Linked DNA regions of Homo sapiens: regions 2, 3, 4, 5, 6 and 7 are each linked to region 1. The links are contacts of gene promoters, found by promoter capture Hi-C in human tissues and cell types (Jung and others, 2019). All regions are on one chromosome and are shown on one strand. The core of a region is centred on a gene start or on the middle of the fragment in contact, and the rest is flanking DNA. Distances in the headings are between cores, read along the strand shown. Region 1 holds the start of TEX19 (testis expressed 19). Region 2 holds the start of MIR4525 (microRNA 4525). Region 3 holds the start of WDR45B (WD repeat domain 45B). Region 4 overlaps TBCD (tubulin folding cofactor D). Region 5 holds the start of FN3K (fructosamine 3 kinase). Region 6 holds the start of RAB40B (RAB40B, member RAS oncogene family). Region 7 holds the start of ZNF750 (zinc finger protein 750).

The links. The method cuts DNA at HindIII sites, captures the fragments that hold promoters and counts their contacts. A contact is called where the count stands out against the background at its distance.
Region 2: a contact is called between a fragment that was not itself captured here and the fragment with the promoter of TEX19 in region 1, in 1 of the 25 tissues and cell types used here (lymphoblastoid cells).
Region 3: the fragment with the promoter of WDR45B here is called in contact with the fragment with the promoter of TEX19 in region 1 in 4 of the 25 tissues and cell types used here (IMR-90 fibroblasts, dorsolateral prefrontal cortex, lymphoblastoid cells and 1 more).
Region 4: a contact is called between a fragment that was not itself captured here and the fragment with the promoter of TEX19 in region 1, in 4 of the 25 tissues and cell types used here (dorsolateral prefrontal cortex, lymphoblastoid cells, mesenchymal stem cells and 1 more).
Region 5: the fragment with the promoter of FN3K here is called in contact with the fragment with the promoter of TEX19 in region 1 in 4 of the 25 tissues and cell types used here (IMR-90 fibroblasts, aorta, bladder and 1 more).
Region 6: the fragment with the promoter of RAB40B here is called in contact with the fragment with the promoter of TEX19 in region 1 in 2 of the 25 tissues and cell types used here (dorsolateral prefrontal cortex and spleen).
Region 7: the fragment with the promoter of ZNF750 here is called in contact with the fragment with the promoter of TEX19 in region 1 in 4 of the 25 tissues and cell types used here (adrenal gland, bladder, dorsolateral prefrontal cortex and 1 more).

What each region holds. Positions count from the first base shown.
Region 1 is chr17:82,357,852-82,361,561 of GRCh38, forward strand. It overlaps TEX19 (testis expressed 19), which reads left to right and starts at 1,396. Exons shown (of 2, transcript NM_207459.4): 1 at 1,396-1,434. RefSeq lists a silencer at 2,582-2,876. The HindIII fragment of the contact is 14,968 bases long and covers 1-3,710 here.
Region 2 is chr17:82,667,208-82,671,448 of GRCh38, forward strand. All of the region lies in intron 1 of RAB40B (RAB40B, member RAS oncogene family), which reads right to left. MIR4525 (microRNA 4525) reads right to left here and starts at 1,100; the gene lies at 1,026-1,100. RefSeq lists an enhancer at 1,575-1,754. The HindIII fragment of the contact is 8,732 bases long and covers 1-4,241 here.
Region 3 is chr17:82,646,837-82,650,751 of GRCh38, forward strand. WDR45B (WD repeat domain 45B) reads right to left here and starts at 1,608. Exons shown (of 10, transcript NM_019613.4): 1 at 1,438-1,608. The coding sequence starts at 1,504. RefSeq lists silencers at 1,061-1,110, 1,121-1,170, 1,771-1,840 and enhancers at 1,253-1,752, 2,131-2,200. The HindIII fragment of the contact is 22,392 bases long and covers 1-3,915 here.
Region 4 is chr17:82,819,637-82,823,467 of GRCh38, forward strand. All of the region lies in intron 13 of TBCD (tubulin folding cofactor D), which reads left to right. Among named protein-coding and RNA genes, the nearest start is that of ZNF750, 18 kb to the right of the region's middle. The HindIII fragment of the contact is 3,186 bases long and covers 331-3,516 here.
Region 5 is chr17:82,733,356-82,737,171 of GRCh38, forward strand. It overlaps FN3K (fructosamine 3 kinase), which reads left to right and starts at 2,260. Exons shown (of 6, transcript NM_022158.4): 1 at 2,260-2,422. The coding sequence starts at 2,282. RefSeq lists enhancers at 1,291-2,003, 2,716-3,428, 3,429-3,816. The HindIII fragment of the contact is 14,087 bases long and covers 1-3,816 here.
Region 6 is chr17:82,696,490-82,700,493 of GRCh38, forward strand. RAB40B (RAB40B, member RAS oncogene family) reads right to left here and starts at 2,209. Exons shown (of 6, transcript NM_006822.3): 1 at 1,966-2,209. The coding sequence starts at 2,107. RefSeq lists silencers at 1,938-2,367, 2,388-2,777. The HindIII fragment of the contact is 28,650 bases long and covers 1-4,004 here.
Region 7 is chr17:82,838,271-82,842,144 of GRCh38, forward strand. It overlaps ZNF750 (zinc finger protein 750), which reads right to left and starts at 1,752. Exons shown (of 3, transcript NM_024702.3): 1 at 1,657-1,752. The region is part of intron 13 of TBCD (tubulin folding cofactor D); the gene reads left to right. The HindIII fragment of the contact is 7,618 bases long and covers 1,150-3,874 here.

The DNA.
Region 1 (3,710 bases), core at 146-2,645:
GTTGAGAACTTATGTCTACAGACACCTGCACATGAATATTTGTAGTAGCTTTATTCATAATTGCCCAAACCTGGGAGCAACCAAGATGTCTTTCCATAGGTGAATGGATAAATAAACCATGGTACATCCAGACAATGGAATACCATTCAGTGTTAAAAAATAAGTGAGCTGGCCATGCAAGGTGGCTCACGTCTGTAATCCCAGCACTGTGGGAGGCAGAGGCAGGCGGATCACTTGAGCCCAAGTGTTTGATACCAGTGTGGGCAACATGGTGAGGCCCTGTCTCACAAAAAATACAAAACTTATCGGGGTGTGCACCAGCACCTGTAGTCCCAGCTATTTGGGAGGCTGAGGTGAGAAAATCACAGGAGCCCAGGAGGTTGAGGCTGTAGTAGCTGTGATTTCACCAGTGCATTCCAGCCTGGGTGACAGAGCAAGACTCTGTCTCAAAAAAAAAAAAAAAAAAAAAAAGAAGTGAACTATCAAACCACAAAAGACATGGAAGAACCAAAGTGCGTATTACTAAAAAAGAAGTTGAAAAGGCTACATAATGTATGAGTCCAGCTCTGTGACATTTTGGAAAAGGCAAAATTAAGGAGACAGTCAAAAGATTCCTGGTTGCCAGGGGCTGGGAGAGGGAGTGATGAAAATGCAGAACACAGATGAATCGGGGCGGAGAAACCCGTCTGTACAATATTAGAGTGGTGGGTCTGCATGATTATACATGTGTCCAAACCTGCAGAATGCACAGCACCGGAGGAAAGCATAATGGAAACTGCAGAGGGCGATGATGATAATAACAACGTGTAACAAATGGCTGGGACGGGAGGACTGGGGAAGGCTGTGCACCTGCAGGAGCAGGGGAGCGGTGGGAGAGCTCCATGCTTTTGGCTCAATTTTGCTATGAACCTAAAACTGCTGTAAAAAATAGAGTCTACTGAAAAAACAAGTGTTAATTTATAAGCGTCTTGTTTAAAGAGCGAAGAGATGAACCACAAAGGGGAAAATGTGTTTAAACAATAACTAATTGACAATTGGCTGGTTCTTAAAATTCAGAGAACTTTAAGACAGAGACAGCAAAGCAGGGATCACGTTTTACAAACGCGGCAGGACCAGGACGTCGTGCCCACGACGGGCCAGCAACCACAGGCTGGATGCTCACCCTGTGCCAGCCTGCAGACGGAGAGCACCCACCCCAATCTCCAGCCCCCAGAGGAGCTGCCTCTCCAGGGCCTTCCTGCAGGTGCCCAGGGGCTGCACATGGCCCTCCTTGGAGGGAGCTGGTGACTCAGCACTTTCATTTCCTGGAAACTGAGGCTCATGGGAGATATGCAGATGAGCCCAGAGCACCATGGGAAATGGCCCTTTATATACCCAAATGGGCTCTGCCTCCTCCTTTCCCTGGGTGCCCACATGAACAGAGACACCAGGATGGTGAGATCTCCCGAGGAGGGGTCTCTGAGGAGGGGTCTCGGAGACACGGCCTGGTGCTGGGTGAGGGGTTGGGAGGCTGAAGCGGGGCCAGGATTCCTCAGGTTCCCTCAGTTTCCCTCAAATTTCCCTCAGTTTCCCTCAGGTTCCCTAAGGTTCTCCAAGTTCCCTCAAATTTCCCTCAGTTTCCCTCAGGTTCCCTCAGTTTCCCTCAAGTTTCCCTCAGTTTCCCTCAGGTTCCCTCAGTTTCCCTCAGGTTCCCTCAGTTTCCCTCAAGTTTCCCTCAGTTTCCCTCAGGTTCCCTCAGTTTCCCTCAAGTTTCCCTCAGGTTCCCCCAGTTTCCCTCAAGTTTCCCTCAGCTTCCCTCAGGTTCCCCCAGTTTCCCTCAGGTTCCCTCAGTTTCCCTCAAGTTTCCCTCAGTTTCCCCCAGTTTCCCTCAAATTTCCCTCAGTTTCCCTCAGGTTCCCTCAGTTTCCCCCAGCTTCCCTCAGGTTCCCTCAGTTTCCCTCAAGTTCCCCTCAGTTTCCCCCAGTTTCCCTCAGGTTCCCCCAGTTTCCCTCAAGTTCCCCTCAGGTTCCCCCAGTTTCCCTCAAGTTTCCCTCGGGTTCCCCCAGTTTCCCTCAGGTTCCCCCAGTTTCCCTCAGTTTCCCTCAAGTTTCCCTCAGGTTCCCCCAGTTTCCCTCAGGTTCCCTCAGTTTCCCTCAAGTTTCCCTCAGGTTCCCCCAGTTTCCCTCAGGTTCCCTCAGGTTCCCCCAGTTTCCCCCAGGTTCCCCCAGTTTCCCCCAGTTTCCCTCAAGTTTCCCTCAGGTTCCCCCAGTTTCCCTCAGGTTCCCTCAGTTTCCCTCAAGTTTCCCTCAGGTTCCCCCAGTTTCCCTCAGGTTCCCTCAGTTTCCCTCAGGTTCCCCCAGTTTCCCCCAGGTTCCCCCAGTTTCCCCCAGTTTCCCTCAAGTTTCCCTCAGGTTCCCCCAGTTTCCCTCAGGTTCCCTCAGGTTCCCCCAGTTTCCCCCAGTTTCCCTCAGGTTCCCCCAGTTTCCCTCAGGTTCCCTCAGTTTCCCTCAGGTTCCCCCAGTTTCCCTCAGTTTCCCCCAGTTTCCCTCAAGTTTCCCTCAGGTTCCCCCAGTTTCCCTCAGGTTCCCTCAGTTTCCCTCAGGTTCCCCCAGTTTCCCTCAGGTTCCCTCAAGTTTCCCTCAGGTTCCCCCAGTTTCCCTCAGGTTCCCTCAGGTTCCCTCAGTTTCCCTCAGGTTCCCCCAGTTTCCCTCAGTTTCCCCCAGTTTCCCTCAAGTTTCCCTCAGGTTCCCCCAGTTTCCCTCAGGTTCCCCCAGTTTCCCTCAGGTTCCCTCAGTTTCCCTCAGGTTCCCCCAGTTTCCCTCAGGTTCCCTCGGGTTCCCTCAAGTTTCCCTCAGGTTCCCCCAGTTTCCCTCAGGTTCCCTCAGTTTCCCTCAAGTTTCCCTCAGGTTCCCCCAGTTTCCCTCAGGTTCCCCCAGTTTCCCTCAAGTTTCCCTCAGGTTCCCCCAGTTTCCCTCAGGTTCCCCCAGTTTCCCTCAGGTTCCCTCAGTTTCCCCCAGTTTCCCTCAGGTTCCCCCAGTTTCCCTCAGGTTCCCTCAGTTTCCCCCAGTTTCCCTCAAGTTTCCCTCAGGTTCCCCCAGTTTCCCTCAGGTTCCCTCAGTTTCCCTCAGGTTCCCCCAGTTTCCCTCAGGTTCCCTCAGTTTTCCCCAGTTTCCCTCAGGTTCCCTCAGTTTCCCTCAGGTTCCCTCAGTTTCCCCCAGTTTCCCTCAGGTTCCCCCAGTTTCCCTCAGTTTCCCTCAGGTTTCCTCAAGTTGCCTCAGTTTCCTTCAGGTTCCCTCAATTTCCATCAGGTCCCCTCAGGCTCTGCCAGTTTCCCTCAGGTTCCCCCAGTTTCCCTCAGGTTCCCTCAGTTTCCCCCAGTTTCCCTCAGGTTCCCCCAGTTTCCCCCAGTTTCCCTCAAGTTTCCCTCAGGTTCCCCCAGTTTCCCTCAGTTTCCCCCAGTTTCCCTCAGGTTCCCCCAGTTTCCCTCAGTTTCCCTTAGGTTTCCTCAAGTTGCCTCAGTTTCCTTCAGGTTCCCTCAATTTCCATCAGGTCCCCTCAGGCTCTGCCAGTTTCCCTCAGGTTCCCCCAGTTTCCCTCAGGTTCCCTCAGTTTCCCCCAGTTTCCCTCAGGTTCCCTCAGTTTCCCCCAGTTTCTCTCAGGTTCCCCCAGTTTCCCTCAGTTTCCCCCAGTTTCCCTCAGGTTCCCCCAGTTTCCCTCAGGTTCCCTCAGGT
Region 2 (4,241 bases), core at 534-3,033, 310 kb after region 1:
AAGCCCCCCTGCATCCCAGGAGGCAGTGTGCCGAGTTCCTGGTCTCCTGTCGGGCAGAGCGAGGTGTGCAGTGGCGGTGCCACCGGTGGCCTCCCACTTGGCTTGGACAGCTGGTCGCCCACATCTTCAGGCAGGCCTGGGCGTTGCAGCAGCTCTGGGCCTCTGTCCTCCACTTTCCACTGATGCAGCCATGAGCACGTGCATGGCACACCTGCCTGATCTGAGCACACCTGTGCAGCGCCTTCCATGAGATCCCGAGCACCCCTCCCTCCCACAGCTGCTGTGTCCAGCCTGTCCCCTGCCCTCTGCTTCCTCCTCCGGGCCCTGCCCCCTTCCTGGACTCCAGAGGCTCTTTCTGTGGTGCCACCAGAGCCCCAGAGACATGGAGTCCAGGCTTCCCGCATCCTCCTCTGTCTCCTGCTAAACTCCACACTCTGTCCACAGAGACTGCCCATCACGCCACCAGGTAGATTAGACCAAGCAACACCAGAGCAAACTCCCCCCGTCAGAGGAGAGTGATTCAGAGGACAAAAGATACAGCAGCACTGAGAACGCCCGAAGCACCCGCTTTGCAGACGCCACCTGCCCCGTGATGAGGCTCAGACAGAGCGGCCAAGCAGTCCCCTGACCCACCCAGTACGAGGCTTTCCTGAGCTGGCCAAACGTTTGCCACCGAGCCCAGCAGGCACGCTGAGTGCACCGTCTGTCTCTCTCTTCTTGGCATGGGCGCTGACGGGGCACTGATGGGGCCTTTGGGATGTTGCTCTTCCGGCTGGAAACCTCTGTGGCTGCTGAATTATTGTCCTGCATCCAGGAAGAATGAGGTACCCAGACAAGTGGAGGGTGAGCGAGACGAGGAGGAGCTTTACTGAGTGTTAGAACAGCTCAGGGGAGACCCACAGTGGGTGGCTTCTCTCTGCAGGCAGGTCGTCCTGACAAGTGTTCAGCTCTCAGCAGACAGGGTAGCTCTCCGCAGCTGGTCATCCCGACGTCCGCGTTGCTCTGAGTCTGGGGTTTTTGTGGTCTTCAGGGTGGGGAAGTGCACGCTGATTGGTCCACAGGCAGCCCACCCCAACCAGCATGCACATCCCCCCTCTGACAAAAGCACCGAGTCCTCCTTCCAGTCTGCAGGACTGGCAGCCCGGGCCCCAGGCCCCCTTGAAGCTTCAAGGTGTGGCTTCACCAGGGACCTGCCCCCTTCCACCCAGAAGTCTGTCTGCCTCCCACTGCTGTTCATGGCACCCAGCTTGTTCATGCCAAGGGGCGCCTGCAGGCCAGCACTGAGCCACCCTCAGCCCTCCCTCAGCTTCCCTCCCATGTTCAACAGCGCCCAGTCCCGAGGGGGCTGAGGTGGCAAGGGCTGGTGTGTCCGTGCTGCCCCAAGTGTGGACCCACCCGGATGGTCTGCAGCAGCACCTGGGCTCAGCCCCAACTGTGCTCCACGACTGGAGCGGGCGTGGGGAGTGAGGAGAGGCCAGGCATTTGGAGCAGGCACTTCTAAGCCTGCAGGGGGCAGGGGTGGCCTTCCCAGGCCTCCAAGAGCACAGAGACGCCCGCGTCTAGAGCTGCCCCAGGGCAGCGGGCCGCGGCACGCAGGGAAGGCGGAGCTGCTGCCTGATCCGTGGATCGAGAGGCCCAGCCATGCCTCCGCTGCAGCCGGCATCTTGGCAGCAGCCACTCTAGATGGGCCACTGCTACCATCAGCATCTTAGCACCAGGAGCTTGACCTCACCACAGTGGGGCACGCGGCGTAGCCTCCATTGCTGTCAGACCAAAACCACACTGCTGTGGTTTTCCCAGGTGACCAAGTGAGTATCAAGGAAACAGTCCTTTTACAGAAAGGAAAATAGCCAGGCACGGTGGCTCACGCCTGTAATCCCAGTTCTTTGGGAGGTTAAGGTGAGAGGATCGCTTGAGCCCAGGAATTCGAAACCAGCCTGGGCAACATGGTGAGACCTCATCTCTACAAAAAATTTAAAAATTAGGGCCTGGGCGCGGTGGCTCACGCCTGTAATCCCAGCACTTTGGGAGGCCGAGCGGGGTGGATCACCTGAGGTCAGGAGTTCGAGAGCAGCCTGACCAACATGGAGAAACCTTGTCTCTGCTAAAAATACGAAATTAGCCGGGCGTGGTGGCGGGTGCCTGTAATCCCAGCTACTCAGGAGGCTGAGGCAGGAGAATTGCTTGAACCTGGGAGGTGGAGGTTGTGGTGAGCCGAGATCACACCATTTCACTCCAGCCTGGGCAACAAGAGCGAAACTCTGTCTCAAAAAAATAAAAATAAAAAATAAAAAAATTGGCCAATCATGGTGGTGCACACCTGTCGTCCCAGCTTCTCAGGAGGCTGAGGTGGAAGGATCTCTTGAACCCGGGAGTTGGAGACTGCAGTCAACTATGATCGTGCCACTGCACTCCAGCCTGGGTGACAGAGTGAGACTCTGTCTCTAAAAAAAAATGTAAAAGGAGACAAAAACACTTTTCTGGAGCCTTCCAACTAGATAGTTCTACTAGCCCCAGCGCGGGAGCTTCAGGCCCTGTGAAATTACGCTTTGAGCGACGACCAAAAATCTCTTCACAGTCCTTTAAAACCCTACTAAGCTCTCGGGAAGGCACCATCATGTGCCAAGTCCTGCAGCCGTCAGCAATGAACACACTGAGCGTGAAACACAAACAATAAATTAAAAAAGAACATACATATTTGCTCCATAATAGCAATCCTCAAAGAGAATTTTGGAAATATTTATTTTCCCTTGGCAGGCACGAGGCAATGAACGAATACACTTGGGAATCTATTTTCGAATGCGGAGATAACTCCAGCTTTGATATGTCTGTCTCCAGACGAAGGGACACTCACCCCCACGGGCTGAGAGGCTCATATTTGTCTTTCCGGAGATTAATCCACTGCCTGAGCTTGGCTGGGTCCTCTGACTTAGAAAGTATCCTCTTGACCTGTCCTTGAGGGCCAACAATCTTTTTTTTTTTTTTTTTTTTTTTTTGAGACAGAGTCTCGCTCTCTCACCCAGCCTGGAGTGCAGTGACGTGATCTCGCTCACTGCAACCTCCGCCCACCGGGTTCAAGCAATTCTCGTGCCTCAGCGTCCCGTGTAGCTGGAATTACAGGCACACGCCAGCAAGCCAAGCTAATTTGTGTACTTTTAGTAGACACGGGGTTTTACCATGTTATCCAGGTTGGTTGCGAACTCCTGACCTCAGGTAATCCACCTGCCTTGGCCTCCCAAAGTGCTAGGATTATAGGCATGAGCCACCACGCCCAGCCAAGGGCCAAACAACTTTAAAATGTGTTCATAAATGTAAAAGAATTCCTGATTTTTTTTTTTTTTTTTTGAGACGGAGTCTTACTCTGTCGCCCAGGCTGGAGTGCAGTGGCGCGATCTCAGCTCATTGTAACCTCCGCCTCCCGGGTTCAAGGGATTCTCCTGTCTCAGCCTCCTGAGTAGCTGGGATTATAGGCGCCCACCACCACGCCCGGCTCATTTTTGTATTTTTAGTAGAGACTGGGTTTTACCATATTGGCCAGGCTGGTCTCCAACTCCTGACCTTGTAATCTGCACGCCTTGGCCTCCCAAAATGCTGGGATTACAGGTGTGAGGTACCGCGCCCGGCTTCCTGATGGTCTTTTTAAGCGCCCTACGAGTTTCAAAACCATCTTTCGTTTCTGTTTTCATGGAGTCATGGATGCTCACAGTCTGAAGTGCTGTCACGATCCACGATGTTGGACCCTGGCCCACCCGAACCCCTGTCTCCCTTCCCCATTTTAATCCTTTAAAATAACTTCTTTTGCTATGCATCTCCAGATTGATGAAGAACATACTTACATTCCTACTTCCTGACATTTCAGTTTTAGGCATCCACTGACTTTCCACTACAGAAGATGAAAATGTAGCTCTCGGTCACTGACACACCCCACCCCTGTAACTCCAACACACACAGTCACACACATCCTGTACTCACTGACACACCCCACCCCCGTAACTCTAACACACACTCACACGCTCCCTGTACTCACTGACACACCCCAACCCTGTAACCCTAACACACACAGTCACACATCCTGTACTCACTGACACACTTCACCCCGTAACTCTAACACACTCACACGCTCTCTGTACTGACACACCTCACCCCTGTAACTCTAACACACACACTCTCACACACATCCTGTACTCACTGACACACTTCACCCTGTAACTCTAACACACACACGCTCCCTGTACTAACTG
Region 3 (3,915 bases), core at 358-2,857, 290 kb after region 1:
AAACCCCAGCACACAACCCTGGGGAAGCTGGCAGCGCCCAGGAAGCCTGACTGGTCCCAGGGCATCAGGCATCAAAATCACTGAGAGGGAGTTCTTTCAAATATGTGTAATCCGGCCGGGCGCAGTGGCTCACGCCTGTAATCCCAGCACTTTGGGAGGCCGAGGCGGGTGGATCACCTGAGGTCAGATTGAGACCAGCCTGGCCAACATGGTGAAACCCCGTCTCTACTAAAAATACAAAAAGTAGCCGGGCGTGGAGGCAGGCGCCTGTAATCCCAGCTACTCAGGAGCCTGAGGCAGGAGAATGGCGTGAACCCGGGAGGAGGAGGTTGCAGTGAGTCGAGATCGCACCAGGCTGGGCGACAGAATGAGACTCCGTCTCAAAATGAAATAAATAAATAAATAAAATTGTCTTCACATATACGGGATCATACAGCACCTGCCTGGATTCTCTTCAAAAACAAAACTTCCAAAGCCAACATGTAAAGCCTCGCAGAAGCCTGTCTCGGAATAACGGACATTCCTTTTCCTCCCCATCAGGACCTTTGGGAAGCGCGCCCTTCAAATGGGAGGTGAGGAGGCAACCATCCGAATCCAGGTCCCGCCCGCCTCCCGCGGGAATCCGACCGCGCCGCCCCGGCCGCATCCCCCGCAGCTCCGAAGCACCTGCGGGGAAGGAGGTCACCTTCCCTGGGCGCTTTAAATCATCCAGTGCTTACACCTGGATTCCGACATGGGAAAAGAAGTAAGATTTCCCTCAAAGGCCTCCCTTAAGTCCTTTGACTCCACCAAACACGAAGAAAAATCCCGGGGAGTGGGGGTGGGGAGAGTGACATTTTCCGATGGAAACCGACGGGAAAGGTGAGACCTGCACCCCACCCGCGCCACTCGCCACCAGAGGCGTCGGAGACGCCGGCTCCGCGGCTCCAGTAAACCCAAGCGAAGTCAGCTCAGCCACGGGCTACCTACTAAAGACCCTGAAAGGAACAGGGGGCAAAACGGGGTTCTGGGCAGGGCGTCAATCACGCTGTGGGGAAAATCCCGATAACCGTGGAGCCCGCAGGGAGCCAGGGAACCCGAGTGGGCGTGGCGCGCGGGGAGGGGCGTCCGCGCAGGAGGCTGGGGTTCTGTGCCGTCTCCCACCGACCTCGACCTCGGCCCGGGACGGCCGGCTGGGAGCGGTCACAACCCGGGGGGTGGGGGAGCGCGAAAGGCCAGGAAGGTGGGAGCCGGTTCGGGCCTGGTCCGGACCCCGGCTCGGGCTGGGAGCAGCGGCGAGGGCCGGGGCCGGGGGCTTCGGAGGGGAGCTCGGGCGGGGCCGGGGTCCCGGGTGGAAGGCCTGGCCGGAAAGGGGCGCCCAGGAGAGGCCTGAGAGCCGGGGACCCCGGGCTGCGGGAAGGCCCGGCCGGGCAAGGCGACAGGGCCGCGCCTCCTCACCGTGGTCCTGGTTGAAGCCGGCGTAGAGCAGCCCGTTGCCGTGAGGGTTACACGGCAGGAGGTTCATGGCGCCGCCGTGCTGGGTCGCCGCTCCTCAGCGCTGCATGCCTCTCGCTGGGGACGGCGGCCTGGTCCCTTCGGGCCGGCGCTGAGGCCGCCGCGGCCGGAAGTGCCGGACGTACGTGCGTGCGTGCTGGATGTGCGTGTGTGCTGGACGTGCGTGCGTGCGTGCTGGACGTCCGTGCGCGCGCCCGCGCCCCACCAGGGAGCCTATGGAGCGCCGAGCGCATCTAACCGAAGCGAGGCGAGACGAGGCGAGGCAGGGCGGGGAGGGGCGGGGCGGGGCGAGGCGAGGCGAGGCGAGGAAAGGCGGGGAGAGGCAGGGCGGGCGGGGCGGGATGAGGCGGGGAGAGGCAGGGCGGGCGGGGCGGGATGAGGCGGGGAGAGGCGGAGCGAGGCGGGGCGGGGAGGAGGGGGCGGGGCGGGGCGGGGCGAGGCGAGGAAAGGCGGGGAGAGGCAGGGCGGGCGGGGCGGGGCGGAGGCGGGGAGGGGCGGAGCGAGGCGGGGCGGGGAGGAGGGGGAGGGGCGGGGCGGGGAGGGGCCAGGCGGGAGCGCAGAGCACGTTCGCGGGAGGGTCTGGCCTTGTCATGCGCGGGGTCGCCGCGGGAAGGAGGATGGCCCGTTGAGGGCTTGGCACGGATACCTGACGGTCGGAGGAAGGGGGGAGAGCCGGTAAAGGAGGCTGACCCAAAACTGAGGCCCGGTGCATCATCCCTCATGAGAGGCAAGCCCAGAAGCGCCACAATACTAGGGTCCCCCTTCAGGAGACAGAGACCCCCAGGACACAGAGGGCCCCCAAGTCACTCAGCCCCCCCAGGACACGCAGCTCCTGCAGGACGCAGAGGGTGCCCAAGACACACAGTCCCCAGGACAGAGACCCCCCAGGACACAGAGGACCCCCAAGACACGCAGTCTCCAGGACACAGAGGTCCCCCCAGGACACACAGTGCCCCCAGGACACAGAGGTCCCCCAGGACACAGCACTCCCAGGACACACAGCCCCCCCGGGACACAGAAACCCCCCCAGGACACAGCCCCCCTAAGACACACAGCCTCCCCCAGTACACAGAGTCCTTTCCAGGGCACATATTCCCCCAGAAGACACAGAGGTCCCCCTAAGACACACAGCCCCCCCAGGACACACAGACCGCCAGGTCACAGAGACCTTCCCAGGACACAGGGACCTTCCCAGGACACATAGCCCCCCAGAGGACACACAGCCCCCCCACGACACAGCCCATAGAGGACACAACCCCTTAGTACCCCACCTAAAGGACAGGTGGCCCTCACACAGCACAGCCCCCGCAGGACTCCGGGACCCTCAGGTCACATTGCTCACAGGGCACAGTTCTCAACTCTTAGGGTCAGGCTGCTGGGGGCATCCTGGTCACAGAGCTTTGTCCCTGGGCTTGGCTCATGCAGTGGATGGCTGTGGAGGCCTGAGTGCTGGCCCTCGTGTCTCTTGCCCAGGGAGTCCTCTCCACTCCCCCTCCTCACTTTCCTGTCCCCTCCTAGGCTCTCCCTGTTCCCTGCAGCACACCTGATCTCCTAGGAGGTCCTGACACTGTCCCCTCGCAGCCACCTGCCTCCACCCCGTCTGTCATCCTCATCCCACCCTCGCCACTTGCCTGAGCTGGTGCTGACCTCTTAGCCATGGGGAGGAAGGAGCTGGACTGTAAGCTGAGATCACTGGCCCACTCGGGCCAGGCGGTCTCCGCATCGTGGGCATTGAACACCTCGATTCCCATACGAGAGGGGCTCCTCCCTGAGAGCGACCAGAAGCCTTCCGATGGCGGAGCGAGTTGGGCCGCCCCGGCTGTGACTAGGGCTCGGGGGCCCAGGTCCAAATCACAGAGCTGGGGCGAGACCTAAGTGCGGTCCAGGGGCTCAGCACCCTCTTCCCTGAAGGGCACTGGGTTCTCCTCTGTGCACACGTACCGGTACCTGCTGTGAGAAGTGTCACGTGGGGGAAGGAGAGAGGCGTGGGTAAGGGACATTTCCCTTCATTTCTCTGCTTGCCACCCTTGGGGCCTCCTTCAGTTCACATTTTACTCAGTCTCCCGGTGGCTGTACAGCCGGGGGCGGGGGCATGTGTGGACATCCACACACAGCGCTGGTTGTATCCTAACCAGGAAACTCAAAGCAGCCTTGCCCACCACAGTGCGTTGAATGGTGACCCTCTAAAGATGTGTCCTGGGGGGCTGAGGAGGGAGGATGGCTTGAGCCCAGGAGATTGAGGCTGAGGCTGCACTGAACTGAGATTGTGCCACTACACTCCAGCCTGGGCAACACAGCAAGACTCTGTCGCAAAAAAAAAAAAAAAAAAAGATAGGTCCACCCAGAACCTGAGAATAGGGGCTTCTTTAGGTAAAGAATCATTGCAGAAGTAATTAAGGATCTCGAGATAAGATCATCCTG
Region 4 (3,831 bases), core at 674-3,173, 460 kb after region 1:
CGCAGTGCTGCACTCACGCGATCCTCCTGCCTCGGCCTGTGGACAGTGGGCCATGTTCTTTTTCTCTTTGCATCATCACCTCTGTTTGAGGACTACTGTTAAAGGGCTACTTGGTCTTTATTTTAGGTGATTCAAATTCCAGGACTTTTCTTGAGTGGTCCTGGCGTAGGTCCTTTCACCTTTTTTGTGGCTCCTCTTTGAACACCTCTGTTGTTGTGGCAGGAGGAGGTGGGCACTCCTCACCATGAGTAAGCTCCTACAATGTTTGTGAACCCTTACGGTTTCCTTTGTTGGATACAAGAAGCACAGGTGGGGGGATGTATTGGTTTAAGTTTACCTTTTTTTTTTTTTTCTTTTTTTGAGACAGAGTCTTGCTCTGTTGCCCAGGCTGGAGTGCAGTGGCGCCCTCTTGGCTCACTGCCAGCTCCATCTCCCAGGTTCAAGTGATTCTCATGACTCAGCCTCCCGAGTAGCTGGGAGTCAGGCGCCCGCCACCATGCCCAGCCAATTTTTTTATTTTTAGTAGAGACCAGATTTCTCCATGTTGGCCAGGCTGGTCTCGAACTCCTGACCTCAAGTGATCTGCCTGCCTTGGCTTCCCAAAGTGCTGGGATTACAGGCGTGAGGCACTGCGCCCAGCCAACTGTACTATTTTGATAAAATGTATACATGTGCTCCTTATTATGCATTTTGTGGTTTTCATCAGTATTTTGCTTTTTGAAAAATGTCAAGTGTTCTGATCTCTTTGGACATTTTGTATGAACCCTATTTCCCTTGCTATCCTTATTGATTGAGAATTGTGCATATTGATTTGGGTAATAATAACTAGCACTTGGTGTTTTTCTGAGCTTGGATGTGTAGATTCATGTCTTTCATCAAACTCGGGTAGTTTTCAGTCATTGTTTCTTCAGGTATTTTTGCTGCCCCTCTCCTCTCCTTGTGGGACTCTTGTTATGTTAATACACATGTTGGTACTCTTGGTGGTACCCTATGAGTCTCTTAGGTTTTGCACTCATTTCAGCTCTTGAGTCTTCTTGTTATGTTAATACACATGTTGGTACGCTTGATGGTGCCCTATGAGTTTCTTAGGTTCTGCCCTCATTTCAGCTCTTGAGTCCTCTTGTTATGTTAATACACATGTTGGTAAGCTTGATGGTGCCCTATGAGTCTCTTAGGTTCTGTGCTCATTTCAGCTGTTGAGTCCTCTTGTTGTGTTAATATACATGTTGGTAAGCTTGATGGTGCCCTATGAGTCTCTTAGGTTCTGCACTCATTTCAGCTGTTGAGTCCTCAGTTCCAGAATTTCTCTTTAGTTTCTCTTTTAATAATTTCTTTTTGAGACAGGGTCTTGCTCTGTCGCCCAGGCTGGAGTGCAGTGGTGGTATCACGGCTTACTGCAGCCTCAACCTCCCAGGCCCAAGCAGCTCTCCCGCCTCAGCCTCCTGAGTAGCTGAGACCACAGGCCTGCTGCACTGGAAAAAAAAATTGTAGAAACAGGATCTCACTTTATTGTCCAGACTGCTTTCAAATTCTTGGACTCAAGTGATCTTCCTGCCTTGGCCTGCCTTGGGATTATAGGAGTGAGCTGCTGTGCCCAGCCTGTTTTTATAATTTCTGTCTCTTTATCAACATTCCATGTTAGTTTAAATGTTGTTCTTTTGGTCTCCTTTAGTTCTTTGTCCACAGTTTTCTTGAGATCTGTGAGCATATTTTTGTCTAAGACTGAGCACAGTGGCTCACACTTGCTTCCCAGCACTTAACCTTTGCTTTAAAGCCTAAAAAGGAAGAAATCTTTGCATATGTGTTTCCCAAATAACAGATTTGAGGGCTGTGTTGGTGACATAGGTCTGTTTATACCCACTGTGTGGCTAAAGCAGGTCTCTGTTAAATTAGCATCTACAAAGCTTTTCTCCTGCCTTCCCTCAAACTTAGGAAGCTCCCTATGCAATCTTCAGGCTGGGGTCCTTCACTGCCCCCTCTCAAGGAGGCCTACCCCTTCCCCCAGAAGGTGCAGTCTGTCACCCCATGTCTTATAAAGTGTAATGGTCTGGTGTCCCAAAGCCACAGAGAAGCCCATTCTAACCTTCCTGCAACTTTCTGAAGGTTGGAGAGCATGTTTGTTTTACTGCTAGGAGGCTCAAGGTCCCTGTGAACCTGCATCAGGTAGTAAGCCCTGCATGTCGGAAATACAGACTGCCTAACTCTTATCTAAGGTGATGTTTTGAGAAAATTTTTAAATGTATAATACATTTTATAAATTTCGAAAAAATTTTAATAAACATTAAATTTTTATAAGTTTATATAAATGTTATAAATTTTGAAAAATGTACAGAGTTGCATTGGAGCACACGCTCTCAGTGTTCATCGAAGACGTACAAGCAGCGTCTTACGACGATGTTGCTGCAGCTGCCTTGGGGTCTTGTTAAAAGCACCATTCAGTAGATTAATTCCCACCTGTGGACTGTGTTTTCTGGCTTCCAAAAGAAACTGTCATGTTTTTCTCTCTGGATGACGAAAACTCTGCACGTACTTCCTATGACAAGTGCGATTGGCGCCCACTGCTCTTGGCAGTTGAGGTGAGGACACAGCGTTTCTGTGACGGTGAAGGGGACAGGGTTTGGAGGGAGATTCAGACATTAAACAAGGAAACGAAGGGAGCAATTTCAGAGAATGGATAAAGTCGTTAAGAAAATACAAAAGGGCGGTGAGATCCTCAGTGATGGGGCCAACCAGTGACTTGAATAAGACTTGGGGAAGACCTCCTGGGGCGACATTTACGCTGAGAGCTTCTACCGTGAAGGAGCCGAGCAGGATGGACTCCTGACCGCAGCATCTCAAAGAGGAACGAAGGCTCGCACGAGCTGGGACAGCGGAAAGAGCAGAAGAGTGGGCACAGAAAAGCGCCTGGGGGCCAGATCCTAGAGGGGCTTCAGGAACACAGTGAGGGGTTTGGAAATTATTCAACATAAAGTCAGATACTGGGGAATACACGGGGGTGCAGTGGAAAGGAAGAGCGAGGGAGAGTGAGGCCATTCGGGAGCCACCACAGTGTTCGGAGTGAGACCAGAGCTGTGAAGAAAGAGAAAAGGAAATACGCTGCATGTAGGATTCTGAACTCAACGACTTTGCTGTTCTATTCAGTGAAAGAGAGTGAGATAGTAAGGTCAGTGAGTGACATGTTGGAGCCTTCCACATAGTAATGGTCTACAAAGTTATGGATTGATGAGTTCACACAGGAGGGAGTGAGAGATGAGGAAGGTGAATGGGTGGAAAAGCTTGAACCGGGTTCCCAGGCTCACTGGCATGGGGAGGTGGAGAAAAGGGGAGGAAGCAGCCGACATGGAAACCCGCAGAGGCTCCTTCAGAAGGGATATTTTATAGGAGAGGAGTCCGATTCTGAGAGGGGGAAGGGGTGGAGGACCAGAGTTTCCTCACAGGCTCTGGAGCACTGAGGTGGATGGTAAATTCCAGGAGAGCAGCTCCAGCTGAGGTCTAGGGACAGGGCATTCCCTCCCTGGTAGAGCCGTTGGGGCTCAGTGCCGAGGCTGGCTCAGGCTCTTGTGGGGGGCCCTGCTGTCTGTCCAGCCCTGGCTGTGGCCTGGCCTGACCCTGCTGCCCCCTGCAGGCCTGTGTACCTCAGTTCCCAGGTGATCAAGGGGCCCTGGGAGAGGTTGGGTCTGAGCACGTCCTGACATGGCCCCAGTGTCCAGTTCCCCGCCTGTTTTTGTTGGCTTGTTTAATCTTGGTAGGCTTTTAAGCTTTCAGGTTTTCAGGAAAATGCAAAGCATGAGACATCTTTGACTTTGTACGTGGACCGATTGTTCTTTTTTT
Region 5 (3,816 bases), core at 1,010-3,509, 380 kb after region 1:
GGAATTCCAAAAAAGAGAACCAAGAATACAGAGGGAGAACGCCATGAAGGGCTAAAAGCTGTCCCAGGATTGGAGGACCCACCAGTCCTGTTCAGGGGATGACAGGAGACTCACCCTGACACCTCCCTGGGGAATTTTTCACTGGTGTCACAGAGAAGACCCTAAAAGCCTGCAGAGATAGAACAGTTTCCACACAAAGAATAAGAACTGAAATGGCCATAAGCTTCTCAACATCAAAACTGGAGCTGGCAGCTTCTTGGTTCCTAAAGAACATGGTCTGATCTCCAAGCTGGAATTTGATACCCAGCCAAACTGTCAACTAGGAAGAAAGAAATTTACAGACGTACGAGAGCTCACACTGGCCTGTCAGGAACCTTCTGTCAAGATGCGATAGCAGGGTGGGCTTCAGATGAGAAAAAGCCAGGGACTGGCACATGCCCTTTCTGCAGACACCACAGTCATCCTCCTGTCCTACCTGCTGTTCTGCGGCAGCCCTGCCACTCCTGTCAAGAGGTGGCTGCTTGGCCGGGTGCCATGTGTAATCCCAGCACATTGGGAGGCTGAGGCAGGCGGATCACCTGAGGCCAGGAGTTTGAGACCATCCTGGCCAACATGGTGAAACCCCGTCTCTACTAAAAATACAAAAATTAGCGGGGCGTGGTGACGCGTGCCTGTAATCCCAGCTACTCAGGAAGCTGAGGTAGGAGAATCGCTTGAACCCGGGAGGTGGAGGTTGCAGTGAGCCGAGATTGCACTTCAGCCTGGGTGACAGAGCAAGACCCTGTTTCAAAAAAAAAAAAGAGGTGGCTGCGGATCCCCTTGCCTTGATTGCGGCTTTGGAGACCGATGGAAGGAGGTGGAAATGATGGTGTGTGGCTTCTGAGGCCAGGTCAGAAAAGGCCTTTGCTTCTGCCAGCTCTCTGGGAGCTCTGGCTCTCCCAGTGCTCACTCTTGGAACCTGGCCTCCATGTTCAGGGAAGCTCAGGCCACACCAGGAGGCCACATGGACATGTCCTGCTTGACAGTGACCGCTAAGCCCAGGTTCCAGTGATCCTGGCCGAGGTGCCAGATGTAGGAGTTAAGGAGCCTCCCGATGACCCCAGCCCAGCTGAGCAAGTGGGCAGGACCGCGGGGATAGGCAGCTCCCAAAGGCTCCCTCCCCGCGGCAGGACCCCTGCATCTCTGTGGGAAAAGACAATTGTTGGGGCCCTAAAAAAAACAGATTTATTGATTAAAACCTCATGCATGGCCGGGCGTGGTGGTTCACGGCTGTAATCCCAGCACTTTGGGAGGCTGAGGCACGCAGGTCACCTGGCCAACATGGGGAAACCCCATGTCTACTAAAACTACAAAATGTAGCTGGGCAGGCCGGGCCGGTGGCTTGACGCCTGTAATCCCAGCACTTTGGGAGGCCGAGCGGGTGGATCACGAGGTTAGGAGATTGAGACCATCCTGGCTCACAGGGTGAAACCCTGTCTCCACTAAAACATACAAAAATATTAGCCGGGCGTGGTGGCGGGCGCCTGTAGTCCCAGCTACTCGGGAGGCTGAGGCAGGAGAATGGCTTGAACCCGGGAGGCGGAGCTTGCAGTGAGCCGAGATCGCGCCACTGCACTGCAGCCTGGGAGACAGAGACTCCATCTCTTAAAAACACAAAAAACAAACAATAAAAAAACCTCACGTCAAATGACTTCAGCACGGACTGGGCTCAGGTGCGCACCTGCTCGTGTGCACGCGTGTGTACCCACGTGTATGCATGCATGGGCGCGCGTGGGCATTCCTGTGTCTCAAGTCCCTTTCCCAGGACATCCTGGAATCAGCAGCCCCACCCTGGGCCGGGTCAGCGCGTGCCATCGGAGCCCCCACGTCAGCCTCTCTCTCCGATCGGCACCTGGCGTCCCAGTGCGCAAGCCCCACGTCATCACGGGGGCCGCTGGGCCCGGCCTGGTCTGCAGTGTGGGAAGCCGGCCAGGCCTGTGACCAGCGCCCGGGCCGAGGGCCGGACCTGCGTCCGCTGCGGGGCAGGGATACCGGGTCCCTGCAGGGAGCTCAAGCCCCAGCGCGCCCGCGAAGAGCTGCGCGGACTCCCGGCTGCTTCCCCCGAATCCCGGGCGCAGGAAGCGCGAAGCCGGACGAACGCGGGGAGCGCGCGGCGAGCCCGCCTGAGGCCGCCCCTCCCGCCGCCCGGGGTCACGCGCCGCGCGCTCCCGCCCCGCCCCGCCCCGCAGCGCCTCAGCCGACAGGGGCTTCCGAGCGAGCAGAGTCCCGCGCCCCGCACTCCATGGAGCAGCTGCTGCGCGCCGAGCTGCGCACCGCGACCCTGCGGGCCTTCGGCGGCCCCGGCGCCGGCTGCATCAGCGAGGGCCGAGCCTACGACACGGACGCAGGCCCAGTGTTCGTCAAAGTCAACCGCAGGACGCAGGTGCTGGCCCGTGCGCAGGCGGGGGCTCTGCGGGTCTCTGCGGGGCCTGGGAAGGCGGAGGGGTCGGGGGCAGGCGCATTTCCTGGGGCTGGGCCTGGGGAGGGGTCAGCTTTGGCCCTTGGGAGGTGGCACCTGCTGGGTGAGCCCGGCTCAAGCGTTCTGTGAAGGTTTGTGTCTGCACGATCCGTGACCTTCCTTTGGCCTCCATGCGCAGCGCACAGGCTTCTAGGGGTGGTTTTAACTTTCCTATCCAGCAAGCGTCGGGGGATGTGAGGCTTGGGGTCCTTGGCTCAGCTCTGGGCCGCCCCTCTCAGCCCACCGTCCTCCTGGCAGTGGGAAAGAAGCAGAGACATGGCTGGGCCCCTGGCAGGGACCCCACGGGCCAGGCCAGCGTTCTCCTTCCCACAGGCCTTGTCTGTGTTTAGACCTGATTTCTATCTCCTGCTGAAAATAGTTCTGTTTAAGAATGTATGGAAGGCCGGGCGCGGTGGTTCACACCTGTAATCCCATCACTTTGGGAGGCCGAGGTGAGTGGATCCCTGAGGTCAGGAGTTCGAGACCATCCTGGCCAACATGGTGAAACCCCGTCTCTACCAAAAAATGCAATAATTAGCCGGATGTGGTGCCACTGGCCTGTAATCCCAGCTACTCGGGAGGCTGAGGCAGGAGAATTGCTTGAACCCAGGAGATGGAGGTTGCAGTGAGCCAAGATCGCGCCATTGCACTCCAGCCTGGGCAACAAGAGGGAAACTCCGTCTCAAAAAAAAAAAAGTATGGAAAATGTTAACGGAGGAAGTGGAGAAGGTTAGCTTCAGCCTTGAGAGCCGGCAGGTGGAGAAAGGCAGGCCTGGGTGCCCTCCCGGCCCGAGTGGGCTCAGAAGGCCCTGCACACTCTGGTGGGGGAGCTCTCTGAGGGGCAGCAGGGGTCCTGGTGGGGAGTGCTGGCAGGAGGAACACCAGAGCCATGCAGCCTGGGCGTGCGATCGGATCCTCCGGCATCACCTGCTCTGCCGGCTCAGAACCAAATCCCTCAAAGTGGGGAGTCCTACTCACAGGGAAGCAGTTTTTGGTTCAGGCTTCCCACGGGCTCTGGGAAACTTCCTCAGCTGGTCCTGAAAGCTCTGCAGGGTGAGACCCCTCCTTCCCTCCCACCCCCACGAGGGGCCGGCACATAGTAGCTGCTCAGTCCATGCATAAGAGCAGGTGATGCTGGGGCCCCTGGGGCTTAGCAGCCCCAAGGCCGGGAGTTCCTGGCCTGGTGCATGGGGGGCTCGCCCTGGAGCAGGGCTGGGGTGTGCCGGCCGCCCTCCCACCTGTGGACACTCACACCCACCCTCGGTGCAGGCTGGCCAGGGCTGCCAGGCTGGGGAGGCTGTGCCTGGGCTTTCCCTGGG
Region 6 (4,004 bases), core at 959-3,458, 340 kb after region 1:
TTCCTGTAGCTCTGGTAGGGTTCATCCCTCACTGAGCCCAGACCCCGAGGGCACAGTGCAGACAAAGCCCTGTCCTCCAGGCGCTCAATCTCCAGCCCTGTCCTCCAGGCGCTCAATCTCCAGCCCTGTCCTCCAGGCGCTCAATCTCCAGCCCTGTCCTCCAGGCGCTCAATCTCCAGCCCTGTCCTCCAGGCGCTCAATCTCCAGCCCTGTCCTCCAGGCGCTCAATCTCCAGCCCTGTCCTCCAGGCGCTCAATCTCCAGCCCTGTCCTCCAGGCGCTCAATCTCCAGCCCTGTCCTCCAGGCGCTCAATCTCCAGGGCAGCGCTGGCCCTCGGACTTTGCCACAGCGACATCCGAACTATCTAGAAATGTGACGAATGGAAGCTTTTTGTTTTCTTTCCTTCTAATTACACTTCCACAGCCACACGTGGCTCATGGCATCCTACTGGACACCACGGTCCTAGAGACCTGCCACCGAGCGGGGAGGGGGGTAGGACATGCGGGGGCAGCGGCGCCTGGGGACAGGTAGAGACGCAGGCTCCCCTCCTGCCCCACGGAGCACACTCTGCACCCACCAGCTGCCAGAGACTCCCCCGCATGCTGCAGTTTCAGGAGGCCTCTGGGTGCTGGTCGTGAGCCCAAGCCCATCTCAGCTGCTCCCCCAAACTCTGCCCATTCCTCACCCCGTCCCCTAAGCTGAGGTGTGGCCGGGCACCTGAGTCCCACCCCACGCTCCACAGTCTCAGGCCACCCCCTCCAGCCGTGCCACACTCCCTTGGTGCTCACGCCGCCTGCCTGGAGCTGCCCTTAGGGGACAGCCTGCACCCTCTACCGAGCAGCCTCAGATCCCGCTTCCTCCCACCCTCTCCCGCTAAGTTCGTCTCTGGCAGGACCCTGGACCTGGGGCTTCCCAGACCCTTCCCAGGCCCCAGAGCTGACAGGTCCTTCCCACCAAGACTCCATCTCCACGCCCGGCTGCCCTCCTCCGCCCAGGACTCAGAGCGGGTCTCTGTTGGAAGCGTGGGTTCAGCCCCGAGGCGCGGCAGGAAGGTGGGCACAGGCTGGGCTCCTTCCACAGCCTCAGGGTCGGCCTCGTCCAAGCTGTTCCAGGGATGCGCGTGGGTGAAGGCCCCGCCTGCTCCTCACTCCCAGCCGAGGTGTTCGCCTCTGCGCGTTCCCCCTTCTCCTGGGTTCCTGCCCCCGCCTTTCTTTCCCCGGAGCCGTCCACCCCCTCGCCGGGCGCCGGCTTTCAAGCCTCAAACTTGGGGGATCCCCGGGCTGCCTGCCTGGGAGCTCTGGGCGCTCCGGCCTCCCCTCGCCCTGGAACCCGCTCTCCGGCCGCTGTCGTGGGGGGTCCCCTCTTCCGCACGCGAGTCACCTGTGCTCCTTCCTCTCCCCCGGACACGCGGGACCCCTGGCCTCGGGACCGGACCCTGGTCTCCCCTCCCCTCCGACCCACGCGCAGACCCAGCACCTGGGCGCCTGCTCGCCGCGCTCCGCCCCAGGAGCCCCGGAGCTCGCGTCCCCTCCCGCCCCTCCTGCCCCGCGGCCGAACGCGCACTTGCGGACTCGAGCCCCCGCCCCGGGTCCCCACAGCAGCGGCCCCAGGTCGGGAGGAGCCCAGCGCCCGGCCCAGCCGCGGGCTCCCGCTGCGCGCAGACTGCGGAGAAGGATGGAGACTGCGCCGCGGGGCCTCGAGTGGAACTGGGGGTGCAACAGGGACGCCGCAGCACGAGGGCCAGGGCCGGGCGGAGAAAGGCCCGCCCGCGAACCGCGCTCCTCCTCAGCCCCGCGCCCCCGGACCGGGACTCCTACCCTCCCCGGCCACGCGCCCCGGCCTCTTCCCGACCCCTGCCCGGTCTCGCGTCCCCGGACCCGGACCCCCACCCGCACCCCCTCCCCAGCCCCGCGCCCCTCCCCGGCCCCGCGCCCGCACCCCGGCACGCCCTCCGCCCGCGCTCACCCGCCGGGTGGCCGTACGGGGACTCGGCCGCGCCATCCTGCAGGCTCGCCAGGATCTCGCCCTTGCCCACGTCGCTGTCGCCCACCAGCAGGAACTTGAGCAGAAAGTCGTAGGCCCGGACCGGGCTGCCCAGGGCGCTCATCGTGACGGCCCGGCGCCCCCACCCATGCCCGGCCTGCGGGGCTGAGCGCAGAGGCGGCGGCCCGGCCCCGAGAGGCGCCGCGCGGGCCCCGAGTCCTTGCTCGCCTCCGGCCCCGCCCCGCCGCCCAGCGCTGACAGCGCGCATCCCCGCCCGGCCCCGCCATTGGTGGACCGCAGTTGCTAGGGCAGCTGCGCGCTTTCACTGGCTTGGTTGTCCGTCCATCTTACTCTCGTCACCGCCTCCGGGCTGTCGCCCACCCGCCCCTCCTGAAAGGTCGCTGTCACCACAGCCAATGGAGGCCCGGAGACGGGGCAGGGGCGGAGCCAGAACAAGCAGGAGGCGGGGACTCTGCTCCCGCAGCCAATGGCGGGGCGGGGTGGGGGCGATCAGGGGGTGGGGCCGGGTGTTTACACTCTCGCGTGCGCCCGTGAGCGCCACGAACTCGCTCCCACGGTCGTCGGGTCTGCACGCCCCGAGTCGGGAGGGGCGAGGGGCGGTGCAGGGTCCCAGCGTGGGGCCTCCCCACCTGCCCACCAGGGAGACCTCGGGTGCCTGGCCGGGTGGGGCTCGGGGTCGGTCCAGTTGGCGGACGCGGCCGGAAGGCCCCCGCAGGCCGCCTCGCCGGAGGAGTCCCTGTCGCCGTAGAATCCAGGCTCGCGGTCTCTCCCCACGGTTCATCCAGGGCCTCGTCGTTGCCCCATTTACGCGGCGTGCCTGAATGCCTGTGTGTGCACATGCGCCTGTGTACGTGTGCATGTGTTCGTGTGTGTGCATGTCTGCGTGTGCATGTGTGCCTCTGCAGATATCTGCACATGTATGTGTCTGCGTGTGCATGTGTCCCTCTGCAGGTGTCTGCACATCTATGTGTCTGCGTGTGCATGTGTCCCTCTGCAGGTGTCTGCACATGTATGTGCGTGTGCATGTGTCCCTCTGCAGATGTCTGCACATCTGTGTGTCTGCGTGTGCATGTGTGCCTCTGCAGGTGTCTGCACATGTATGTGCGTGTGCATGTGTGCCTTTGCAGGCATCTTTGCATGTGTGTGTCTGCGTGTGCTGCTTCTATGCATGCGCTCCTATGTGTGCGTGCGCTTGTTTGTGCATCCATGCATGTGTTTGCGTGCGTGCTGGAGGAGAGCATTGGGTGGGACCCTCCAGCCTTTTGGCTTCTCCTCTGCTCTAGAGAGCAAGGGTTGCCAGGCCGAGGTCTGCCCTTCGCTCTGAGGGTCTCACCAGGTGCACATTGGTTTATTTGGTGCAGAATTCAGGCAGCAGGCAAAGGGCGAGCTCCGTCCAAGAAGAAGGATAATGCCCCCACTACTTCATCCCCTCCACCCTGCGTTGTGTAGGGAACTGCTCTAGACCCCATTAGAAGTTTTTTGTGGGGGAGGAACAGAAGAGGGAGCGGAAGAAGAATTACAAAAGAGACTGAAGTCAAGATTATTATATTTGTCATTTGCATTCATTTGGACCTAGAAAATGTTTACTTTGGAATGCCAATTTAGTTTGCAACACCTGTTATTCATTGGTTGATTAGTTGCTTTAGTTACTAATGCAGCCACATTTTTTTTTTTTTGAGACAGAGTCTTGCTCTGTTGCCCAGGCTGGAGTGCAGTGATGTAATCTTGGCTCACTGCAACTTCCACCTCCTGGATTCAAGCCTCCCAAGTAGCTAGGATTACAGGCATGTGCCACCACACCCAGCTAATTTTTGCATTTTTAGTAGAGATGGGATTTTGCCATGTTGGCCAGGCTGGTCTTTGACTCCTGACCTCAAGTGATCGACCTCGGCCTCCCAAAATGCTGGGATTGCAGCACTGTTTTTTTTTAGAAGGAAGGTCAGAGGAAGAAAAGAGGATGGAAGGTGGACGCTAGAAAACTATGAGAAAGATGGCATTTA
Region 7 (3,874 bases), core at 502-3,001, 480 kb after region 1:
TTGGGATGCTTAACAAGCTTCTAAGGAGTTTGAACTTTGAAAAATAGACAAGAGAAAGAGTTCTTAAAAAAAAAAACTTTGATAGGACACAGCGGAAGTAATTACAGTTTAACTTTATGGGACGTTTCTGTGACAGGCTGGGTAACTATGCTTGTCATGCGTCCTAACCTGTGCCCTGAGATTGTGCTGTAATGTTCCTTTTGGTGGTGTCCAGCTGTCTGGCAAGGAGCCTGCTCGGCTGGAGCATTGTGAAGGGCATGCTGTAATTACAATATTGTGATGTGGCGTTGTTGCATAACTCAAGGACACACCATTGTCGCCTACCCACTGTGATGTCGCAAGAACGAGATTTGTGAGTTTTACTCCAATTGAGCTTTTCCAGTGATTGACTGCCACTCCCTCCCAGCCTTTCGGTTCTTTAAAATGAAAGATAAACCTCAGGACAACCAAGACCTGGGGAAAAGACAGTCTTTGGGAATGTAATTTGGAAGAATGGATCCAGAAAAACAACCAGGGGCTCTTAACTCTAGTTTCGGCAGGAGATCCCGAGTTACAGACCTGAGCTCGTAAACAAACGCTCACCACTTTACAGTCGCCGCCTCATCCTGAAACTCCGGTCAGAAATGCTGGAAGGCCTTTGCTAATGCGCAGTGAAAATTAGGGGCACAGATGTGGACGGACTGTGCTTGGTCAGTAATTGTTCTCCTCCAAATCAAGTTTATGAGAAATTTCATATAAGGAAAAAAACCCTTTTGTATCTGTGTCTATATGTACAGAAGACCTTAACAACCAAACAGAAACTTAACCCCTTTGGTTTGGTTTTGTTTTCGAAAGCTTATGCCCAATTTTAAACTTCATGTAAGCTTATGTACTTATTTTAAACTTTAAAACTATTAAAAGTTAAACTAGATAGTAAATTCGGCACTGTCTAATGTGCATACACCACAAACATATAACCCTAAATTCAGCTGTGTCTAATGTGTATACACCACACATATATATAACCCTAAATTCAGCCTGATGTACTTATACCACACATATATAACCCTAAATTCAGCCTAATGTACATATACCACACACACATATATATAACCCTAAATTCAGCCTAATGTACATACACCACACATATATATAACCCTAAATTCAGCCCTAATGTACATACACCACACATATATAACCCTAAATTCAGCCTAATGTACATACACCACACATATATATAACCCTAAATTCAGCCCTAATGTACATACACCACACATATAACCCTAAATTCACCCTAATGTACATACACCACACATATATATATGACCCTTACCTCTTGTTAGCATTTATTGTAGTTTGTTTTTGAGGTTAGGAGCAGTTAAGCAATAATATGAATTTGTGTTGGTTTAACTTTTATGAATTTTAGGGCAGAACAAGGAGTTAATTTCCAGATAAGCTTGTTCATGTTCTTAGAATAAAGTGTCAGCCTCATTAGAAGTTTTGTAATCGTGGTCTGCATCCCAGCCATGCACCTGCTGGGTCCTGAGTAATCCTCGGAGCCCAGAGCAAGGCAGAGCAGACACGGAGCAAACGCTGCGTTCAGCTGGGTATTTTAGATACGTCTGAGAAGAGTTTTAAAATAAAACTTGAATTTGAAAAGAAATAGTGAGTACTTACCAGAGGTGGGCAGTGCTGGGATGTGGCCGGTCTTGGTGCCGGTGGCTGGCGGTGCTCAGGAAGCAGTACCTGTTCTCACGCTTGCTGGGTGAAACTGGAGCCTGCTGTTCCAGTGGGAGGGATTTAAGTGTAGGAGTTGAGCCCTCGGGGCGTAGAGATGCACCTGATATTCCTCCTGCCCGCAGCTACGATTCATGTGTTTGCACCCACCGAGCTGCTGCGGGCAGCCTCCCCAGCACTGGACCCAGCAAGCAAGTTATCTCGCCGACTCCCAGCGCTGTCTCCAGACTCAACTGTCTGTGAGTGCGGCGTCGGTGCTGCCTGGACGGCCATATGTCAGAGGGCTTTCGATGTGTCCGCAGTTAGAATAGAGATTACTATATTCATCAGAATCACACCCGATGAATATTTGGCGTCATGATAAAGACATGTGAGACTTTCCTTTAGAACTTGAGCATGTGTACGCAGGAGGCAAACACTTGGATTGATTCTCAAGCGCGCATACCCTGGGAGGCACAGTATTCATGGCGTCCTTGCCATGAGGTCCAGTGAGGCCTTTGAGGATCTGTGGACCTTCCACCCTCTACCCTGCTCCTGAGAGTCTCTGTCCCTGGTCCTCCTCAGGAGCTGAGCCGGCAGGGAGGGAGCTTATCCCAGAGCCTGGCTGCAGGGACCTGCCGGAGCTTGCCCGACACCAGGCACCGCAAGAGCTGCGGAGCAGGGTGTGTGGGTGCGGGGGAGGGGGCCAGCTGTGCACTCCCGCAAACCACCCTCCCCCCACTTTAAATTGCAGAGGCACTTAACTTGGGGGCCAGTTTTTACCTCCACACCCCCCCACCAAAACTGCTTGCTTGCTTAATCGGAGGCCGCACCCCAGTTGTAGCGAAGGCTGGCATGTGGTGTCGGTTTGAGGACTGGGAAAGGAGGTGGGATGAGCTGGTGTCAGGCCCTTGGATGAGCCTGAGGCTGCAGGGCAGAGGCTGCAGGGCTGTGGCATAGGGACGAGCTGGCCAGGACAGACAAACTGGTTTTTTTTTTTTTTTTTTTTTTTTTTTTTGAGACAGAGTTTCACTGTTGCTGCCCAGGCTGGAGTGCAATGGCATGATCTTGGCTCACTGCGTTTCTCCTGCCTCAGCCTCCCGAGTAGCTGGGACTACAGGCGCCTGCCACCACGCCCGGCTAATTTTTTGTATTTTTAGTAGAGATGGGGTTTCACCGTGTTAGCCAGGATGGTCTTGATCTCCTGACCTTGTGATCCACCCACGTCGGCCTCCCAAAGTGCTTGGATTACAGGTGTGAGCCACTGCACCCGGTCTGTTTTTTTGTTTTTGTTATTTTTTTCCTTAAGACTTAAGATTTTACATGGCTTTGCGTTTACTTTTATATTTAATTCCTTTTTTTTTTCTTTTGAGACAGGGTCTTGCCCTGTCACCCAAGCTGGAGTGCAGTGGTGCGATCACGGTTCACTGTAGCCTCAACCTCCTGGACTCGAGTGATCCTCCCGCCTCAGTCTCCCCAGTAGCTGGGACTACAGGCACGGTCACTATGCCTGGAGAATTTTTTGTAGAGACAGGGTTTTGCCATGTTTCCTAGGATGGTTTAATACCTTAAAATTTTTTTTGGTGGCTTTTGTCCATTGAGACATCCATATACTTTATGAAGTCAAAAAGAGTTATGTAAGTCTTATGACAAAAAACAGCAGTTCCCTGTCCCTCTTACCTATTCCTGGATAGCAAACTATCCCAAACTTAGTGGCTTAAAACAAGCACCGTTTTATTACGTCTTAGGATATATTGTGTCAGGAGTTTGTGGAGGGCCTGGCCGAGTGCTGCTTCTGTTTCATGGACACTGACTGAGGTGGCTCCGTGGGAGAAAGCTGGCAGGTGACTGGTCTGGAGGGTCCAGGACAGCTTTACTCACCTGCCTTCTGTCCTGGAGGGGCAGCTGGAATCCTGAGATCAGCTGGAACCTCATCCTCACTTAGTAGCACTTCAGAGGCCTCCCTAGCAGGGTGGTCAGCTGTATGATGGCTCAGGACTTCAAGAGAGCAAGGCGGAAGGTTCCAGTCCTCCAGAAGGCTGGGCCGCAGATTGTCAGGGTGTCCCTTCTGTCACCTTTCTCTGCTGAGGCAGCCTCGTGCTGCCCAGATGCAAGGCGGGAGCCGAGGGCTCCACCTCTCAGCGGCAGGAGTGCCAGGTGTCTGCGCTACGACTCCCTC